Regions from separate parts of the Homo sapiens genome. Here region 2 is linked to region 1. Evidence: promoter capture Hi-C in 16 types of primary human blood cells and fetal thymus (Javierre and others, 2016). All regions are on one chromosome and are shown on one strand. Each heading gives the region's core, a stretch centred on a gene start or on the middle of the fragment in contact. The rest is flanking DNA. Distances are from core to core; before and after follow the strand shown. Region 1 holds the start of SEMG1 (semenogelin 1). Region 2 holds the start of SPINT4 (serine peptidase inhibitor, Kunitz type 4).

Region 1 (5,381 bases), core at 1,182-3,681:
CTGGGGCCACTGTTTCTACTGCTTGCCCTCTCTTCAAGTGCAGTGTTACTTACTGCAAAGAGGCAGGGAAGCACCATTACCCCTCTCAGGGCTTCAGTTTTCTTCTCCTGATGTTGTAAACACCCAATTGGCCCATGAGATCCCTCACCATCTCTTGTGTCTCCCTTTCCATCTTCTCTTTCACAACATGAACAAGGATCTTTCTACATATCTCTTTCCTGTATTCTGAGAGGGAGGACTGATAGTCTTTGGGCTTGTGGTCTCTGAAGGAGCATAGATGAACCCTAACAGGGATGCAAGAACATTCACTGGTGTGCAGAAAGAAAACATTAATGGCTGTAATCCTTTATACTATATAGGAAAGAAACTGAGGTTTACTAATCTAAAGTATAAGAACTGACAAGAGTATACCATAAACTTATAAATATGCATATGTAGTCAGTACCTGTTCAAAAAAACCTTTAGCAGGTAGGCATATACAAAAAAATATTATTGAAGAATATTCAATTAAGGATAGGAATTCTAGGACCTCATGATAGGCCAAACATCCTTCTGTGCCACTACCAGACCCTCTCCTCACCAGGGAATGGGGAGGCTCATCTTCCTACCACTTGTTATACAGCACTTCTATTGGTGCGAACAATGGTTATCAATCCCACAAAAGTCCTGGAGAGTCCCCAACAATTCTAAACAATGAGAGAGATATCTCCCCTATTTGCTAAAAAAAAATTACCTTGATATTGGTCCATCCTTTCACATGGTTACCGAATGGTAGGTTTATGTAAATAATGGGTTTCGGTCGTTGTTAAGATGTTGTGCCAAATGACGATCACTGTCATCTTCCTGCTCTATAATTACAATATCCAATCCCCCATGAGATCCATGTTGGTGTCTGCCTTTTTGTTCATGACTGAGTAGGTCTTGTTCTCTATTTGTAGATTGGCCAGACTCTCCTTTTGCATTTTCACCATGCCATGGCTCTTGCTTAGGATTTGGTGCCTGGATTTGAGACTTGCCTGCTACTAGCTTTTCAGTTTGGCTATAAATACTGCGTTGGGATACATCTTTCTGCACACCATTTTCTCCATAGTGGAGTCGTCTTTCTTCCGTACTTGAAGATTGGTATGATATTTTATTTGCCTTTTGGCTATGCTCTTGCTCTTGACTGGGAATTGTTATCTGTTTTTGAGACTTGCCCTGTGCTTTCTCTTCAGTTTGGCTATAAATACTGCTTTGGGATACATCTTTCTGCACACCATTTTCTCCATAGTGGAGTCGTCTTTCTTCTGTACTTGAAGATTGGTATGATATTTTATTTGCCTTTCGGCCATGCTGTTGATCTTGATTGAGATTTTTTGTCTGGTGTTGATTCTTGTTATATACTAGGAGCTCATCTTGGGTAGAAAAAATGTCTTTGGATCCATGTTGGAGTTTGTCTTGGTGCGCAGGACAGAGTGAGGTTTGTACTTTACTTGAATGTTCCTCTCTCACTTCAACCACATTTTGGTAATGCCCTTTATTTTGATGAGAATTTTTAGTCTCACGTTGTTGTTTGTTAGCTACTAGCTCTTCAGTTTGGAGAACATAACTGCTTTGGGATCCGCCTTGTTTTCTACCTTTTTGTGCACCAGAGACGGAAGTTTGTTCTTTACTTAGTCCATGAACCCACAGCCTTTCTTCTGTGTTTGAATATTGACTGGATATTCCCTTTCCAGATGGGCTATTCCCCTGATCTTGAGAAGGATTTTGTGTCCCACGATGAGCTTTGCCTCCTTTATGGTGTATAACTACCCTGTGAAAATGACCTTTTGATTTATCATGGTCTCTGCCTTCTTGTTTATTATGGAGCAGTTGTTGACTTCCACCTAGATGTCGTTGTGATTTTGTCGTCTTATGTAGGGCATTCAAATCATATTGCTGACTTTTTCGGGACTGGTCATGATCATTGGCATCTACATGATATGTGTATTGAATAGAAAAACTGCCTTTGGATTCAGTTTGTTGCTTGCCTTTTTGTCCAGAATAGTGCTGGCCCTTTTGTCCGTGTGGAAATTGGGAAAATTCACTTGGTAATCGGCCTTTTGATCCACCTGGTAATTGATAATAAGAAGGTATGCATTCATTATCTCCAAAGCTCCCTTACAACTCTTACCCCCCACTTTTCCCCCAACAAATTATTGATATTTCTAGAAAAGCTGAAGCTTTGGGTGGAGAAAATCAATTCTCTTCAAAGAGAAGAATCTGTGCCTAAACAGGTTACTGTTTGCACCCCAAATAATCTTAGATTATTAGCTGTCTGAGCAGCTTTCCCCAAGGCTTACCCTCTCCACTCACCTTTTTGTCCCATCACAGCTGCTTGCTTCTCCAAGATGAGGAGCAGGGAAAGTACAAAGATGATGTTGGGCTTCATCTTGCTTGGAAAACCTTGTCTGAGAGCTGAGCCGACCTTGTCATTTATATCTTCCTTGAGTGAGTGTGCCATGGGTGGAGCTTAAATTACAAAAGGCACTGACTTTTCTTAGCTTATCAGTAAATGCCAACTTCCTCACCCCTGCTGAGTGTGGGACAAAGTCAATGTCCCCAGCAACATAATGTCAAAGGCATTTTCTTTCTTCTGGCAGCCCCAGCAAATTTTTATCAGTCCTTTTAGATCATCATGCCAGATCACTTTAATTTTACAGAATTATAGACAAAAGTAGGAAAGAGACTGGCTTCAGGCTACAAAAGCAATTGGTTTCTGAGAATGCCTTTATATTCTAAATGTGAGTTTCCCTTCATGATGCAATAATTTAAATACTCTATTTTAGATAGAACTCCATACTTCCTTTTGTTTTAAAAATGATCTTGAGACACGTTCTATTTTACCTAAGAATGAGCAATCATAGAAGTCCAATGATATAGAAGATAATGAAACGTTATGGAATCCAAAGAAAGAAATTTTAAACAAGTAAATGGGGCACTCCAATGTCAAATATGTCTGTCAAGTTCAACACAATAAAGACTGACATGTATCCAAAGTTTTTCTTAGTTGTTGCTAGTAACTTTAATGAGAGATGAATACAATTGCATTGGGTTGTCAGTTGAAGGATGGAGACCAGCTGCAACCTTCTCAGGAAGTCTGAATTCATGGTGGAGTGAGAGCTGAGGCTGTATCTGGAGGGTGAGGTAAGTTCCAGATGTGTTTTCAAAGGATGAAAGAATTTTAATATGCTTTCATGGTGATAGGAACAACTGTTGGAAAAAAAGTAAAAATGCTGGTTTCTAGATTGGGTTCTTTTCATGAAATCTACCTAAACAGCAGAATTTTCTTTTTAATTAAGAGAAGTTTCTACTTCAGTAGTAAACAGCTGAATCCCCAAACAGGCTGTGAGAAATATTTGCCACCATCAATGAATTGAATAATGTATTGTGAGTGGACATGAAGCTAAAATTCCCACCTTTGGTAGAAGCATAGATTTTTCCAATTGTGATGACATCCTGAAAAGTCTGAAGAAACTTTCTTTACTTTGAGTCATAAAGACTTCGTTATGAGCAGACCACAGGAGAAGAAGAAAGCATCCCAACAGTGTCCCTGTGTACATTCAGAACACCTTGGAGGGTAGTGCTGGGGAAAGGATAGCTTGAAAACTTATTTTCAATTATTCTGTCTTAGAATCTTAACCTTCCTGTAGGCAATGCTCTATGGAAGGGGAAAAGAGAAAGGCCAACCACAGAAAAAAAGTGCTATGCTATCAAACATAAATCATGTGAGCTGCATGGTTTCTCTATGAGCCACTCTGAGATCTTACCAAATTTATCTGTTTGCCTCAAAGGCAGTAAGTAGTTCCTTATTGCAGAAACCCCAACAGAGTAAGGTGATATTGTTCTGAACTAAAATTGATTACTGTGTCTGCTAACCACTGTAATCTTCCTCACACTTCCCTTAAGAAAATACCAGAAACTGTTCTGTTCCAAACTTACTGATACAAAATAGAGTCTGAAATATTAATCTTACTTATGGATCAAGAACAAAACTTTCATCTCATCTAGTGTCCAAAAGATGCAGATAAAACAAAAGGGCACAATATTTGCAAAAACAAACCAGGAAAATGCAATCCAAGCAAAACATGTGATTACTATATTCATATTAGAATTGAATTCAATGAAATGTGGAAAAAAACATTTCCAAATGATAAAGGAATGTATTGATAAAGTTGAAATCAGAAATCAGTGATTTGGAAAGCATAAAAATGGTATGGTGATGCATACATCTTAGATATGGAATTATGATGGGGGAAAAGATTAAGTGATCAAATGATTTGTCCTGTTGGACAAATAAAAAATGCAAAAATATTAAAGTGCACTAAATTGGCACAAAAATCTGAAAGTTTTATACTCATAGGAAAAGAAGAAAACAGGAGGACTTAAATGTATTTTGCTCAATTCTATGGGAAATCACTTTACAACTTAGAAAAGATTCAAATATAGTTATTTTTGGGGAATGGGCAGAAAAACCTGGTAGAGTAGGACTCCCCAGAGATTATACCCTCCAAAACGTCGAATTTAATAATTATCCACATATGATAATAGTTTCTCAAAAGCTAAACAGGCCAGATGAGATATTACAGAACCTGATTATAGTATAATAATTAAAAATACACATTGAAGAGGGCACGAAAGACAATTTTGTTTCCTGTATCACCCCTAACCCAATCACAGGCAGCACAGTGCAGAGAGAGCTACTTTCTTTTGGGGGGAAGGGAATGAAGTAAGGCTTGGACTTTTTCACGGAACAAAATACTAGTCTATAATAGTAAAATTCAGCACTGGGAGGACACCCATAGTGACCCTGCTTGAATACCTGTGGCCTAAGCAGCAAGACCTGCCCCAGCAGCAGAGAGGAACACATAGTTCCTGTGAGATAGACTTGCGTTCTTACCTGTACCACTGGCAGCCAACTACAGCAGCCTTGGATTATGAATAACCAACATACGTAGGCAGGTATCAGTGAGGAGGAGTTGGGAATGCATTCCATCATTGTGCCAGCCTCTGCAGCCATGGGTTACAGCCTGGTGCAGAACTGGCCATGGTGGTCCTGGGTTTATGACATCTCCTTGTGCTGCAATGACTGAAACAGTCACAGGCTTACAAACCTAGAACAGATGATCTGCCTAGAATTTCCGGACAGAGTTGAGGGACATTCTCAGACAAAGCCAAACTGGAGTAAGTACCTACCTTAAATTCAATATCTGCATTCAAGTACCTACCTGCAATTCAATAAGTACCTACTTCTTCAATGTGCAGACATCAATGCACAATCACAAGGATCAAGAACAATCGGGGAAAACTGATGACACCAAATTAACAAAATAAGGTACCAAATGAACAAAATAAGATACCAT
Region 2 (5,381 bases), core at 1,361-3,860, 520 kb before region 1:
CCAGGCTGGAGTGCAGTGGCATGATCTTGGCTCACTGCAAGCTCCGCCTCCCGGGTTCACACCATTCTCCTGCCTCAGCCTCCCGAGTAGCTGGGACTACAGGCGCCTGCCACCACGCCTGGCAAATTTTTTGTATATTTGGTAGAGACGGGGTTTCACTGTGTTAGCCAGGATGGTCTCGATCTCCTGACCTTGTGATCCGCCCACCTCGGCCTCTCAAAGTACTGGGATTACAGGCGTGAGCCACCACGCCTGGCCCTACCTTGATATAATTTTAAATTATATCAATATATGTTAATTGCTTAGTGCAGTGCCTGACACACAGTAATTGTCCAATAGATGGTGGCTATTATTTTCTCTCTGGGCATTTGATTTCCTAACTGCAAAATGAGCAAATGATCCTGACAGCCCACCCAAATGTGGTTTTTTTTTTTTTTTTTTTTTAGATGGAGTTTTGCTCTTATTGCCCAGGCTGGAGTGCAATGGATGGCGCGATCTCGGCTCGCCGCAACCTCTGAACCCTCTGAACTTCTTGAACCCTCCCGGGTTCAAGTGATTCTCCTGCCTCAGCCTCCCGAGTAGCTGGGATTACAGGCATGCGACACTATGCCTGGCTAATTTTGTATTTTTAGTAAAGATGGGGTTTCTCCATGTTGGTCAGGCTGGTCTTGAACTCCTGACCTCAGGTGATACACCCACCTCAGCCTCCCAAAGTGCTGGGGTTACAGGCATGAGCCACTGCGCCCGGCCAACCCAACTGTTAAAACTTCTTATTTGAGCAATCCTCCCTCTTCCCACTCCAAGCAAGGTTAGCCCCTGATCAATTTTCTCTATCTTAGGATGTCAAAACCTCTTCTTTTACTACCCCCAAGGACCAAGGACAGGATTAGATTCCTTACGGTGGTTTGTATTTTGCAACACAGGCTACTTCACGTTCTATTTTAAGCTTGAAGTTGTTAAGGTTGCCATTACAGCCGGAGAAGACAAAAGTTTCACATCTTTTGGAGGTTCTGTTGTAGAAATATCTAAAGTGAACTTCATAGCAGCTTCCAAAATTCATGTCCAATTTGCAGGGATCTGCATGAGAGGTTCCCATTGAGTTAGTGGGAATTGGTAAGGACTCAGCAGGAGAACTTGTCTTTATGGGCCCTTAAAAATTCCTACGTTTAGCCTGGAACTATTCTCATATTCAAGGACTCTGAAAGATGTGGTTTTCTCTTGGAGTTAGAGTTGCTTGGAAATGTTGCCCTTGCACAATGCAAATTGGTTAAAATTCCAGGTTGTTGTCGTGAGCAGTGTATTGGAGAAGGAGAAGTAGTGATCAGTGAAAAAGGAGGTTCCACCACTAGCTTGTGCAGGGCGATGAGCTTCCCTACATTTCCTATCTTACAGTTTATTAAAGTACAGTATCCTCCTGCTTCCCCACATCATCTTCCTTTCCTTTTAATTGCCCACATAGGACATGCAATTCAGAGTGCCTCCTCCCCAGTTTCATACATTCACTATACTACCTATACTTCAAAATTTAAGTAACCATGGCTGCTGCTATCTTTAAAGCAGGATGCATACTAAAATGCTAAAATGCATAACCTTGGGGTGATGCTCGTTCATCCTCATACCCCGTCATCTTCTCCTTTCTTGCCTTCTCAGAGGCAAACCCTCTGTTTTTATTGTTAAGAGTTGGGTAGTAAGTGGTTGGAACAGCCACAATCATGGTTGTATTGACAATCCACCTTACTCAAGCAGCCAGCCTGGAATTTACTCTCTGGTAAAGTTATGTGCATAATCTTATTTCATACTCACAAACACCCTCTGCAGCAGGCACTTTTCTGATCTTCATTTTACACATGGGGAAACTGAGACTAAGAGAATAATAAGTGGTTGAGTGACTTGTCCAAGGGCACATATCTGCTAAGTGAACAGGTCCAGAACTTGAAGTGTCTGACTTACGGTATAAACTGTGCTACTTTCTCGTCCCCTGGAAGCGCTGAGCCTTCACACACTATCTATGGAAGAAAGTCTCATTGCCTCTCACATTTACATTGTGAGCTCCTCTAAACAGGAATCATCTGTCCAAGAGTTCTGTATATGTCCATAGCCCAGATACTGAAAATGTCTTAATTTGCTCTGTCTCCAACCCCCTTTCTCTCTCATCCCAATACATAATCATCAATGGTCTGGGATCTTTGAAATTTGTCACACAACCTCTGATTCAAAATACTTCCAGTCCTTTGGACCTCCTATAAAAGAGGTCTCCATCTGGAAAGGACTTTGTGTCATTTCTGTTTTTTCTCATCAAACATCCAGAGGACCCCTAGTGTAAGTAATGCCCTGAGTCAAGGGACTAAGTGTCTATGGGTATTGTCATGAAAGGAAGACCTTCCTGGACTACCTAGATAACACACTTTTCTCCCAATACCTTCTCTCTCATTCATAATTGACCTTTGGATTTATTTTCTGCCTTAGCTTCATACCTTTGAGGTCTCCACATATCTTCTCCGCAATTTTATTAACACCACCCAATAACAGGGTATTCAATGAGCAGAAGATGAAGAATCTTAGAAGAAATCCCAGCTTGGCAGACTTCATGGTGCAGCAAGCAGCAGGCAGGATAGTTGTGGTATCACCTGATGTTATATTTTGGGCTTGATACTTGAGACGGTTGAGCTCACCTACCCCAAGGGCCAGGACTGGACATTACTAGGTGTTGAGTTGAACAGTGAGTGCTTGGGTACCCAGCCATGAAGCTGAAGGCCCCAAACTGATTAGACCCTTGATAGTGAGTCCCATGTTCATCTAGAAGCAATAGAAACTTAAGGATCAGAGCTTCTGCATATATTTAATCATGAAGGGTAGAATCATCAGAGTGAGGAATTAAAAAGGGATTTCTTCCTTTCTCTTTTTGACCTTTTATGCACAGAAGAAACTAATCATGGCACAAGAGAAAGAGTGCAATAGCACTATAATAATAGTAACAGGGTTAGTTATAACCTAGAGTACTACTTAATTCCAGGTGCTATTTTTAAGTAATTTGTATATACTTTATCATCATATACACCCTATGAAGTAAGTACAGTTATTACCATCATTTAAGGATGAAATGGAGACAGAGATTAGGTTACATGTACAAGGTCACTCATTTATTATGTGGTAGAGACAAGATTTGAACTTGGCTTCAGAGTTTTTGTTCTTAGTCACACTACACTATGTTATCTAGGAACATGAGGACATCTTGGATCTGTTTTCTCCTAAAAGTTTTGAAGTTTTGGCTTACCTTTACACCCTAAAACCACCTGATGTTGATTTTTTGGTAAGGTATAACATAAGGATCCTTTTTCATTTTTCAGTGGTTCCAGACCTATTTATTAATGAGTTCCTCTTCTATTTAACTGCAAAATAATTTTGCTTAATTATGTGGGATTGCTTCTGAGCCCTTTATTTCACTCCACTGTATACCCCCACTCCAAAGCCACACTTAATCTCTTGAACTTTGTTTATCTTAGGATTTTGTATTTTCATATAAATTTTAGTCAGTTTATCAAGTTATTCAAAAGACCTGTTTCGGGCCAGGCGTGGTGGCTCATGCCTGTAATCCCAGCACTTTGGGAGGCTGAGGTGGGTGAATCCCATGAGGTCAGGAGTTGGAGACCAGCCTGGTCAACATGGCAAAACCCCGTCTCTACTAAAAATACAAAAATTAGCTGGTTATGGTGGTGAGTTCCTGTAATCTCAGCTACTTGGGAGGCTGCGGCATGAGAATTGCTTGAACTGGGAGGCAGAGGTTGTAGTGAGCTGAGACTGTGCCATTGCACTCCAGCCTGGGTGACAGAGCAAGACTCTGACCGAAAACGAAAACAAAAACAAAAACAAAAACAAAACACCTATTTTGGATATTCATTTGAATTGCACTGGATCTACAAATCAATTGGAAAAGAATGATATCCTTATAATATTGTCTTTGATATATATATTTCCATCTATTTTGACCTTCATTAATATTTTAAAGAAAGGTTTATGACATTTCTCATGCAGGTGTTACAATCTTATTTATATTTTTAATATTATTGTAAATGCTATCTTTTAAAAAAATCTTCAACTTTTATTTTAATTTCAGCGGTACATGTGCAGGATGTGCAGGTTTGTTACATACATAAACCATGTGTGCCATGGTGATTTGCTGCACAGATCATCCCTACACCTAGGTATTAAGCCCAGCATTCACCAGGTATTCTTCTTGATGTTCTCCCTCTCCCTACCACCCCCATGATATGCTCCAGTGTGTGTTGTTCCACTTATGTGTCCATGTGTTCTCATCATTCAGCTACCACTTGTAAGTGAGAACATGCAGTGTTTGGTTTTCTGCTCCTGTGTTAGTTTGCTGAGGATAACTGCTTCGAGCTCCATCCATATCCCTGCAAAGGACATGATCTCATTTCTTTTTATGGCTGCATAGAATTCCATGGTGTGTGTGTGTATATATATATATTTCAGTATCACATTTTCTTTATCCAGTCTATCATTGATGGGCATTTGGATTGATTCATGTCTTTGCTATTGTGAATAGTGCTGCAATGAACATATGCATGCATGTGTCTTTATAATAGAATGATTTATGTTCCTTTGGGTATATACCCAGTAATGGGATTATTGGGTCAGATGGTATTTCTGCCTCTAGATCTTTGAGGAATCTCCACACTGTTTTCCACAATAGTTGAACTAATTTACACGCCCACTAACAGTGTAAAAGTGTTCCTTTTTCTCTACAACCTCTCCAGCATCTGTGTTTTTTGTTTTTTTTTTTACTTTTTAATAATCACCATTCTGACTGGTATGAGATGGTATCTCATTGTGGTTTTGATTTTCGTTTCTCTAATGATCAGCGATGTTGAGCCTTGTTTCATATGTTTGTTGGCCACATATATGTCTTCTTTTGAGAAGTGCCTGTTCAAGTCCTTTGCCCACTTTTTAATGGGATTGTTTGTTTTTTTCTTATAAATTTGTTTAAGTTTCTTGTAGACTCTGGATACTAGAACTTTGTCAGACGGATAGATTGCAAAAATATACTCCATTTCTGTAGGTTGTCTGTTCACTCTGATGATAGTTTCTTTTGCTGTGCAGAAGCTCTTTAGTTTAATTAGATCCCATTTGTCAATTTTTGCTTTTGTTGCAATTGCTTTGGTGTTTTCATCATGAAATCTTTGCCCATGCCTACGTCCTGAATGGTATTGCCTAGATTTTCTTCTAGGGGTTTTGTAGTTTTGGGTTTTACATTTAAGTCTTTAATCCATCTTGAGTTAATTCTTGTATGTGGTATAAGGAAGGAGTCCAGTTTCAATTTTCTGCATGTGGCTAGCCACTTTTTTCAGCACCATTTATTAAAT

Evidence for each region. Contacts are between HindIII fragments. The CHiCAGO score rates a contact against its expected background, and 5 or more counts as called.
Region 2: the fragment with the promoter of SPINT4 here is called in contact with the fragment with the promoter of SEMG1 in region 1 in 6 of 17 cell types (M1 macrophages, endothelial precursors, M2 macrophages and 3 more); the score reaches 7.3 in M1 macrophages.

What each region holds. Positions count from the first base shown.
Region 1 is chr20:45,204,083-45,209,463 of GRCh38, reverse strand. SEMG1 (semenogelin 1) reads right to left here and starts at 2,431. Exons shown (of 3, transcript NM_003007.5): 1 at 2,335-2,431; 2 at 734-2,090. The coding sequence starts at 2,410. The coding sequence ends at 778. The HindIII fragment of the contact is 3,637 bases long and covers 2,204-5,381 here.
Region 2 is chr20:45,719,576-45,724,956 of GRCh38, reverse strand. SPINT4 (serine peptidase inhibitor, Kunitz type 4) reads right to left here and starts at 2,610. Exons shown (of 3, transcript NM_178455.3): 1 at 2,475-2,610; 2 at 900-1,077. The coding sequence starts at 2,589. The HindIII fragment of the contact is 5,556 bases long and covers 949-5,381 here.